Regions from separate parts of the Homo sapiens genome. Here region 1 is linked to region 2. Evidence: promoter capture Hi-C in 16 types of primary human blood cells and fetal thymus (Javierre and others, 2016). All regions are on one chromosome and are shown on one strand. The core of a region is centred on a gene start or on the middle of the fragment in contact, and the rest is flanking DNA. Distances in the headings are between cores, read along the strand shown.

Region 1 (5,360 bases), core at 1,920-4,419, 260 kb after region 2:
GCCCCAACTAGCTTCCCCCTAGCAGAGATGCCAAGGCCCCTGGGAGGATCATGGGGTTCCACTTCCACCTCGCTGCAATCGCAGATGCACCACTAGAGGGCAGGCCAGTTCACTGGCCCAGAAGCTGACACTGGGGGCAGGAGCCCGCCCCGCTCTGAACTCCAAGCCAAGAGGGCCTGTGACTGGCATCTGGAAGTTTCGAGGGCTATGCTGTTGTCCACCCACATTCAACAAACAATACATGCAGTAGCAGTCTGATGCTTCTTTTAATGCTTCTTTTAAATCACACCAAAAAGTTACCTTTTCTTTCAAAGCTTTCCTCTCTGACAAAGCAAACGAGAGCCAGGAACTTTGTCACCTCTTTTAAATAAAGCACGGTTGTATTATTAAGCTTTATGATGGCTGTGGATTCCTTGTCATAGGGGGTTCCTGCTCCATCTTCTTTGAGACTAAATGGGGACAGAAACCAAAACATGTGACCATTGAGAAAGAACTAGAAACTGTAAGCCAGTGACAAGAGACCGGCTTTAAGCCACAAAAAGTGATAATCATAAGTTGTTTACACTTGCAGTGCCTTTCAGCAAAAGAGCTCAGAAACACACAGGCACAAAAACATACACAGTCCTCAACAGTCATTTCCTACTGACAATGAGTGGCTGTCTGCAGCAGCTGGGACACTCTCCAGGCACCTGAAGAAGCCAGTTGAAGGATGAGGTTAGCTCTCCCCACCTCCGTGGCCAAGGGCTTCTTGTTTTCTCACCTAGAATAGCCAGGCTGTCAAAAGCGTGGTCTGATGAAAGACTAAGAAAGGCTGAAGATATGTTCCAAATTCAAGGAGTCTAAAGAGACCTGAAAGCCAAGTGCTAGACTGGATCCTGAATTGGGAAAAACTGCTATAAAAGATAGAATTGGGACCACTGGTAAAATCTGAATATCGTCTATATATTAGATAATAATGTAGCCATGCTAAATTTGCTGAACTGTGAACTGGTTCAATTTACTCTCAAATGGTTCACTGAAAAGAAATAGATACACAATATGTATTAGAAAAAGAGAGATGCAGCAAATATGGCAAATTGGTAAAAACTGATGAATCCCAGTGAAGAGTTATACAGGAGTTCATTTTACTACCCTTGTATATTTTCTGTAGGTTTTAACTTTTTTTCAAAATAAAGAGTTAAATAAGATATATAGGTCTATTTGGCCAGGCGCAGTGGCTCACGCCTGTAATCCTAGCACTTGGGAGACAGGTAGATCACGAGGTCATGAGTTCAAGACCAGCCTGGCCAATATGGGTGAAACCCCATCTCTACTAAAAATACAAAAATTAGACAGGCACCACGTGGTGGCGCACACCTGTAGTCCCAGCTACTCGGGAGGCTGAGGCAGAAGAATCCCTTGAACCCAGGAGGCAGACGTTGCCGTGAGCCGAGATTGTGCCACTGTACTCTAGCCTGGGTGACAGAGCAGGACTCCGTCTCAAAAAAAAAAAAAAAAAAAGATATATAGGTCTATTTAAGAAAAGGTGTGGTGTGCAGACACAAGTGACTTGGGTTTGAATCTCATTTCTTTTATTTGCTAGCTATGTGAGCTTGGACAAGTCGAATAACTTCTTTGAGCCTCAATTTCCTCATATGTACACTAACAGTAATTATTTCAAAGTTTTCTAATGAAGATTAAATGAAATAATGCATATGTAGCACTAAGCATAATGCTGAGAACATAAAATACACACTTATTATCATGGCTTTAATGACTGAAACTGGACCCTCTGAAGATACCTGTGTAATAAAAGTGTTATGAATCCTTTCCTCACAGGCAAAGGACACTTCCCTAAACCTTTTCCCCCTTACCTAAAACTGTACATAAATTTTCTGATTTATTTTTACTCCCCAAATTTATGAATAACTGACCAGAAATTTGACTTAATTGGAATTGTGTTAAACCTTACCACATTCACTGAGAACTAGCATTTATTAAAGCTTACTATGTGATATTAACCATTCTTAGTTCTTAAAATGCATTATCCTCTGTCTGCTATAAGAATCCTCTAAGTTTCTAAGGAAACTGAGGCTAGGGGAAAATAAGATAACTTGGTCAAAGCTGACGATAGGGGTAAAGTCAGGACCTCAAACCTAGATATGGCTAATTTCAAAGTTAATGCTTTAATCCTGTAAATACACAAGGGGGTACAGTATCAAGCCAGATTTAATGAAAAGCCTGAATTGCACAAGAGTATTTTTAGGAAATGTAGGTTTTTAGTTTTGAGAGTATTTTAAGCTGCCATATACATGGCCACTTAAAAGTAAATTGTGAGGGTGGGCACGGTGGCTCAGGCCTATAATCCCAGCACTTTGGGAGGCCGAGGTGGATCGCCTGAGGTTGGGAGTTCGAGAACAGCCTGACCAACATGGAGAAACTCCGTCTCTACTAAAAATACAAAATTAGCTAGGCGTGGTAGTGCATGCCTGTAATCCCAGCTACTCGGGAGGCTGAGGGAGGAGAATCACTTGAACCCGGGAGGCGGGGGTTGCAGTGAGCCGAGATCATGCCATTGCACTCCAGCCTGGGCAACAAGAGCGAAACTCCATCTCAAAAAAAAAAAAAGTAAATTGTGGAAGTTCGTATTTTTTGTTTTTTTTAAAGGATTCAACTCACTATAACCTACCAAAACATTAAAGAAAAACCTTTTAAGTGCTGGACATCAAATGTTAAAGATGCTTTAACAGAATTCATTAACTTCCATTGCACTGTTTTAACTACTATATTTTAAGGCTCAATCTCTCTTGCTTATAAGTAATGTTCTGAGAACAAGAAACTGAAACATTTAACATGTTTTACCCAATGAAGAAAATAGCATTTAAAATTTCCAAGTAAATATAATACTATATAGATATTAAACACTGTTTATTAACAGCATTTAATAATACAGGAAAATTATCAGGTGGTAATGTTAAATGAAAAAAGCAGGATGAAAAATTTCACATACAAATGTGATCTCATTATCCTAAAAATTACACATGGAAATAAGAACAAACTATATAAAATGTAAACACTGACTGTCTCTAGGTGGTGAGATTATGGGCTACTTTAATTTTATTCTTTAGACTTTTATGTATTTTCTGCAATAAGCATGTATTACTTTCACAATCAGAAAAAGGTAAACATTAAACAAATTAGAAAAACAGACTCCACCAAAAATTACAAGTAGAAATTGATGAGGTTTGCAACTGCAAAAACTGTTTTACTACTCAAGTTTTTCATCTATAAGCAATGAAAACACATGAAGATAGAACATATTTTAAAGTGTGTGCATGTGTGTGTGCATATATGTGCGTGTGCATGTGTGTGCATGAGTGAGCACAGAGCTGCCAGCTGGGGCACAGCCTCAGCTGAGAGATTCCTGAGGCACCAGGTCACCTGATTCTAGGGCCTGCTGGTCTCCACTGGGCAGGTGGGGAGGGGCAGCAAGGCCTCCAGTTACAAGGGCACCTGCTTCCTCATTGCCTAAGAGGGCCCCAGGCTCTGCACACAACCCTGCCTCCTGCTGGTTAACAGGACTGGCTTGTTGCTGCTCCAGCAAACAATCTGAGGAAACCCCAGAGCCCACAAACCATCTGTGACCCAGACTGGTTCTTACTGAATCCTGTGGGTTCTCAGAACACTGTACTCCACCACAGAAAAACCAATCTGACGGCAAAGCCAGGCCACCTCCTCCTAACCCCTCCCTCCCCATGTTTGTTTTAGCTGGGTAAAAGTAACTCTGATTAACATCATTTACATGAACAACTTACCACTTACAGCTAATGACCATATGGCACAATAATGATCATGCACATTGTTAAGCATGTGCCAGATTAATTGTGTTGTTCATTGTACTTGATTACCATGGCAATCTGCACTGTAATCAGGGTGCGTTCATCTTCCATGACTATTTCAAGGTCATCCATTTAAACGGTTTAAAAATAATAGAATGCTTCAGGGCAGTAATCTTGGGCAATAAGGTTTATTTCTAAAGCCAGATGTCAGCGTTTAATTATAACAGTAATAATAAATTATGGCAGCTACATTTATCCAGAGTCTACCAGGTAAAGGCACGTTATGAGCCTAATGATATTTCATCCTCAATACAATCTTGTAAGTATCACTTTCCATGTGTGTGTGGTGTGTGTGTGTGTGTGTGTGTGTGTGTGTGTGTGTGTCTAACAGTTAACAGAGAGAATCCGAGCTGAGTGGGCAAAGGATTTTTAAGCAATGGAAGAGAAAAATGGAGACTAGACTCTCACAAAAGCTGAAAGGCAGAGCGTCAAGCTGTGTAAGGCAGGTCACAGGCAGTGAGTAAAGAGGAAGATGAGCAAAAGCTTTACCTCATCGATTAGATGAGGATGTCAGATACAATACAGATAGCAACACCTTAACATCTTAATAAGATGAACAACTAGTTCACACCTAGTCAGTCTGTACACCACCTGTTCAGCACATTTATAATTATGTAGAATTGTTTCTACATCGGGTAACATAATCAGTTTCCCCCACTCCTTGTTTATTTTATATTAAGTGTATAGGAAGCTCTGTTTTCTAAGAACGGTATGTTAACAGATTTTTTTCAGCAGAGGATCAGGAATCAGATCTGAGTTGAAACTCCAGTTCCAATCCTTACTGATAGTGTGAGCAAGAGTAAGAAATGTAACCACTCTGAACCTCAGTTTTTTCATCTGTAAAGTGAATACACTACAGTTGACCTTAAACAACACAGATTTGAACTGCCTAGGTCCACTTATACATGGATTTTCTTCCGCTTCTGCCACTCCTAAGACAGCAAAATCAACCCCTTCTCTTCCTCCTCCTCAGCCTACTCAATGTGAAGACAATGAGGGTAAAGACCTTTATGATGACCCACTTCCATTTAATAAATAGTAAATATATTCTTTCTTATAATTTCTTCTCTGTAGCTCACTTTATTGTTAAGAATACAGTGCGTAATACATAACATACAAAATGTGTGTTAATCAATCATTCATGTTATTGGTAAGGCTTCCAGTCAACAGTAGACTATTAGTATTAATAGTTAAGTTTGTCAGGGGGGAAATATATGTGGCTTTTTGACTGTTCAAAGGGTTGGTACCCCAACCCCTGTGTTGTTCAAGGGTCAAATGTAATTCCTGCCACATCGAATAGTTGAGAATTAAATGATAACCTGGGCACAGTGGCTCATGCCTATAATCCCAGCTACTCGAGAGGCTGAGGTGAGAGGATCATTTGAGCCCAGGAGTGATCTATCCTGGACAACACAGGGACACCCTATTGCTAAAAAATTGAAATAAATAATAGGAAGCATGCAATGAGATTAGCATAATGCG
Region 2 (5,528 bases), core at 1,876-4,375:
ACCACCATGCCTGGTGAATTTTTTGTATCTTTAGTAGAGACGGTGTTTTACCATGTTGGCCAGGCTGGTCTCAAACTCCTAATTTCGTGATCTGCCCACCTCGGCCTCCCAAAGTGCTGGGATTATAGGCGTGAGCCACCACGCCCGGCCACAGCTTTTATTTTTTTAGACTCTCTAAAGGTCTCTCTGTCACCCAGGCTGGAGTACAGTGATGTGATCATCGTTCACTGTAACCTTGACCTCCCGGGCTCAAGTGACCTCCCGGGCTCCCACCTCAGCTTTCCCAGTAATTGGGACTACAGGTGTCATACACCAGGCTACATTTTATAGCTTTCTTTTATTTATTTATTTTTTGAGACAGAGTCTCACTCTGTCGCCCAGGCTGGAGTGCAGTGGCCTGATCTCGGCTCACTGCCAACCTCCACCTCTGGGGTTCAAGCGATTCTCGTGCCTCAGTCTCCTGAGTAGCTGGGATTACAGGCGCCAGCCACCACACCTGGCTAATTTTTGTGTTTTAGTACAGACGGGGTTTCACCAGGTAGGCCAGGTTGGTCTCGAACCCCTCACCTCAAGTGATCCGCCGAACTCGGTCTCCTAAAGTGCTGGGATTACAGGCGTGAGCCACCGCGCCCAGCCTTATATTTTACAGCTTTCAAATCTACAAATGGGGTTTTCTTTTTTCTTTCTTTTTTTTTTTTTTTTTTTTTTGAGACGGAGTCCTCGCTCTGTCTCCCAGGCTGGAGTGCAGTGGCGCGATGTTGGCTCACTGCAAGCTCCGCCTCCCGGGTTCACACCATTATCCTGCCTCAGCCTCCTGAGCAGCTGGGACTACAGGCACCCGCCACCACGCCCGTCTAATTTTTTTATTTTTAGTAGAGACGGGGTTTCATCGTGCTAGCCAGGATGGTTTCCATCTCCTGACCTCGTGATCCGCCTGCCTCAGCCTCCCAAAGTGCTGTGATTACAGGCATGAGCCACCGCACCCGGCCACGAATGGGATTTTCATATGATTCAACTTAATGCATCTAAAGACTAAGATTACACATACAAAATCCAGATTTCTGATTTCTCTTTACAACTAGTAAGATATATCAACAATAAGTCCAGATGTCTACATGGCAGCTGTCAGCTGGAGCCTAGAGGCAGATGCTGCACCTTTTAGATGGCATATTTCCTTTTCTATTTGCTATTCTATTTCTATTTGATAGTCCACACCATCCTACTGTGCCTTATAGGCTGGCAGCTTCACTCGTTTATATTACCCCGGCTGGCCCCTGTGAACCATTAGAATTGGAAACCTCTGATTTTTCTACAGACACCCTGAAGAGGCTTGATGCTTATTCCATTTTCAAGTTGTCTGTTCAACTGCAAGGTTTTTTAATTCTGCCCAAATCATAAATTATGTTCGTGTTTTCTATGTAATATATTGATAAAAAGGCTGACAGAAGAAATGTAAACAAGGCACCTTTTAGATGTTAACTAAGATATATTAACCACAACATATAGTTGTGATACATGTACTTGCGGTGATCAAATAAAAAATACTTGGCCGGGCACGGTGGCTCATGCCTGTAATCTCAGCGCTTTGGGAGGCCGAGCTGGGCGGATCACTTGAGGTCAGGAGTTGGAGATCAGCCTGGCCAACATAATGAAACCTCATCTCTACTAAAAATATAAAAATTAGCCGGGTGTGGTGGCACACGCCTGTAATCCCATCTACTTTGGATGCTGAGGCAGGAGAATCGCTTGAACCCGGGAGGCAGAGGTTGCAGCCAACCAAGATCGGGCCATTGTACTCCAGCCTGGGGGACAAGAGCGAGACTTTGTCTAAAAAAAAAAAAAAAACTAAAAAATAAAAAATACTTAACGTTTATTTACTCCTCAAAGGTAAATTATAATACTCATCTCAGATGACTATGGAGTCAAGAGCTCCATGTATCTATACCTCTCTGGCCCCAGGTAAATCATTAAAACTCTTAGTTTCCGCTCTCCCTTATGTACAATAAAACAGTACTGCATAGGTAGAAAGGCTGGGGGGAAGTAAATGAAGCCCAGTGAAATGAGAATGTCTATTAACACCGTTCCCTCTCCCCCCGCCCCCAATTTCTTCAGCTCCATTAAGGAAGGAAGTGCTATATGAAAAAGTCATTCCTTAGTATCTGTGTTCAGACACTCTGTAGACAAAATTCTCAACGGAGGGGTGGGGCATCAGAATCAACCAGGTGAGCCTATACTCACGCCCTTAAAAAGGGTGTTAATACTGGACTCAGAACTTTAAAGAAAAACGCACTGATCTCATTCATTGAAGTTATTTTTTGTATGCAGAATAAAATTGTGTGAATAAAATGCAAGCAGCACCGTCTGTAAGTAGACCAGAACTGGGGGAAAGAAACTGTAAGGCCCGAGTACGCATTATGGTACAAAACGTTCTCACCAGCCCCAATTCCTCTCCATCTAGGAGGGTTGGATGCGCGCGATTTTATCGGGGCACGGCGACAAAGGAGCTGAAACGCGGGCACTCGCTGGAGCGCAAACCCTCCCGACTCCCGGCGGGGAGCGACCTGAGCTCGGGAGAGGGGCGCCCCGTGTCCCACGGCCCGCCGGCTGCGGTGCTGAACCGCGGAAAGCGACGCGGGCCCGGGACACGATGTGCGCGGCGCCGGGGCTGAAAGCTGGCCGGGAGGGCGGAGGCGCGAGTTCCGCCCTGGGCCGCGGAGTAGTCCGAGGGCTCACACCTCCCCAAGTGGCGCAGCCTGGGCCCGCGGGGAGGCTCCGCGCAGCTCCCCCGAGCCTCCGCCGGGCCTCGGCCGTGCTCCGCGGCGCGGCTGTTACCCCGCCCCTCCTCCGCGCCCCCAACCTGCAGCCGCGGCCGTTCACCTGGTGGCGTCCGCGACGTTCCTGATGAACAGGGAGGTGTTGGGGGGCCTCGTGTAGCGAGACATGACCGCTTCCTCCGTTCCCTCCGGGTCTGCCCGCGGCCGCTGGACTCGCTCCGTCTCCCGCTACCGCTGCTACCACCACAGGAGCTCCGCCGGCCCCCGGCGCGACCCCCACCCCTCGGCCTCAGCCCCGCCAGCGCGCAGCCGCAGAGGCCGGCGCAGAGGGGGCGCAGCGCGGCGCCAGCCTGGACGCACGGGCCGGGGGCGGGGGCGGCGCCGGCGCGGCCCAGGGGCCGCGGGAATTCCGAAGACAGGAGCGCGGCCGTTCCCAGGCCCTATGGGATCCGGGTATGGGGGGTCCTGGAGTGCGACGGGATTTGGGGAGGGGGCGGCGAGGGCCAGTGTATGTCAGGAGGGCGGAGGCCAAGAGGGGGCTTGAGGCCGCGGCGGGGACGCCGGGGGTTAGAGGACCCAGAGGTGGTGGCGGGGCTGCGGCTGGGCGGAGGTGGGGTCAGTGAGAGCCGCTTTCAACCGCGCCCCCGCTCAGCCTCCGCGGCCCTCAGCGCATCGTCCTGAGCGCAGGACCTTGGCAGTTGGTAGGCCTCCTGCCCCTCTGGTCTTGAGCCTTCGGCTTTCCAACTGTGAGGTCTCGGTTTTGTTCGGATTTGTTTTTTTAATAGAGACGGGGTCTCGCTGTGTTGCCCAGGTGGTCTCAAACTCCTGGGCTCAAGCCTCTCCCGCCTCGGCCTTCCAAAGTGCTGGGATTACAGGTGTGAGCCACCGCGCCTGGCCTGTTGGATTTTTAAGTATTATATGATTCTTCATCCTTTATTCACTTGGGGCATAACACTCAGCTGTGAGTACATTCATTCAGATGTTTATTGAGCGTCTACTATGCGCCAGGCACTTAGCGTGGGATATAGCAATGAACAAACAGGCCAAGCCCCGCCCTCTGAGCTTACATTCTAGAGGGGGGACAAACGAATGTACAAATGAATACATGATGTAGAAGACAACAGTTTAAATGCAGGGACAGTTAAGCAAAATTTAAATTACCCTCTCCCTATTCCCCCAAAATGTTGTAGCCCATCCCCTTCTAGTTAGACTCGTCTTCGCCTTGCTCCTGTGGCCGGCAGGCACAGCCTGTTATTCAGGGCTGGGAGTGTAACCAGGCAACTCCTAAGTGTGAAGAGTGCCCCTTTTCGCTCGCAGAAGTGGTAGGCTTTGAAGAATACATGTCGTGGTCACCCTTCTAGCTCACAGCCCTCCCAGAGGCTGTGGAGGTTCCTGGGTCTGCAGCTGTACTGGAACGGTGGCTATTCTTTCATTCAGAAGGGATTGCTCTGGCACTGCAGGCACAGGGCTAGACTGGCACCGTGCCTATTCCCCTAGAGCTTAGAATTTGGTAGGGAGGCAGAATCTAACAATCACACTGGTAAAGATACAAACTATAATACAGGGCTATGAAAAGAACTATATGCTGCTGAGAGCAGGCATTGTGGGATGGTGAGCAAGGCTAGAGGGTCACTTATGTTCCCTGAACAAGTCTTGAAGAGATGGGTAAAGAATGGAGAAGAGTAATTAGTGCAGTGGAACAGCACGTGCAAAGGCTTTGAGGCAATATAGTAAATGAGGCAAAACAGGAGCATGAGGCTGGAGAAGAGTTGGAAAATGAGGCTGGAGAGCAGGCTGGATTCATAATACAAAAGCTTAGAATGCTTACCATGTGTTAGTTGGCTAGGGCTGCCATGACAAAGCACCACAGATTTGGTGGCCCGAAACAACAGAAATTTATTCTCTTGTAGTTCAGAGGCCAGAAGTCTGAAATCCAGGTGTCCGCAGGGCCATCATCTATCTGAAGGCACTCTAGGGGAATCCTCTGTTTCTTCCAGTCTTTGGTGGCCCCACACATGTTTTGGCTGTGGATACATAGATCCAGTCTCCACTTCTGTCTTCACATGGCCTCCTGTCTTTCTCTCTCTCTTTCTCTGTCTCTCTCTCTTTTTATTTTAGATGGAGTCTATGTTGCCTAGGCTGATTTCAAACTCTTAGGCTCAAGTGATCCTCCTGCCTTGGCCTCCCAAAGTTGAGATTACAGGTGTGAGCCACTGTATTAGTCCGTTTTCACACTGCTGATAAAGACATACCCAAGACTGGGGAGGCCTCACAATCATGGTGTAGGGCAAAAGGCACATCTTACATGGTGGCAGACAGAGAATGAGAGCCAAGCGAAAGGGGTTTCCCCTTATAAAACCATCAGATCTCGTGAGACTTATTCACTACCAGGAGAACAGTATGGGGAACTGCCCCCATGATTCAGTTATCTCCCTCTAGGTCCCTCCCACAATACGTGGGAATTATGGGAGCTAACAATTCAAGATGAAATTTGGGTGGGGACAGAGCCAAATGATATCAGCCATCTATCCTATCCAGTTCTATCTCTTATAAGGACATTTGTCGTTGGATTTAGGGCCCACTTGGTTAATTCAGAATGATCTCATCTTGAAATCCTCACTTACATCTGCAAAGATTCTTTTTCCAGATAAGGATACATACCTGGAGATAGGACTTGGACATGTATTTTTGGGGGCCGCCATTCAAACCACTACATTGACTTTGCAAATAAAAAACTTGACCAAAGAAAAGAAA

Evidence for each region. Contacts are between HindIII fragments. The CHiCAGO score rates a contact against its expected background, and 5 or more counts as called.
Region 1: a fragment that was not itself captured here is called in contact with the fragment with the promoter of SRSF12 in region 2 in 1 of 17 cell types (naive CD8 T cells); the score reaches 5.4 in naive CD8 T cells.

The regions. Positions count from the first base shown.
Region 1 is chr6:89,372,137-89,377,496 of GRCh38, forward strand. It overlaps RRAGD (Ras related GTP binding D), which reads right to left. Exons shown (of 7, transcript NM_021244.5): 6 at 301-449. Among named protein-coding and RNA genes, the nearest start is that of UBE2J1, 22 kb to the left of the region's middle. RefSeq lists enhancers at 1-248, 158-377, 748-867, 2,961-3,461, 3,462-3,962. The HindIII fragment of the contact is 2,379 bases long and covers 1,981-4,359 here.
Region 2 is chr6:89,114,946-89,120,473 of GRCh38, forward strand. SRSF12 (serine and arginine rich splicing factor 12) reads right to left here and starts at 3,126. Exons shown (of 5, transcript NM_080743.5): 1 at 2,878-3,126. The coding sequence starts at 2,942. It also overlaps a transcript of PM20D2 not described here. RefSeq lists a silencer at 2,710-2,979. The HindIII fragment of the contact is 10,924 bases long and covers 1-4,586 here.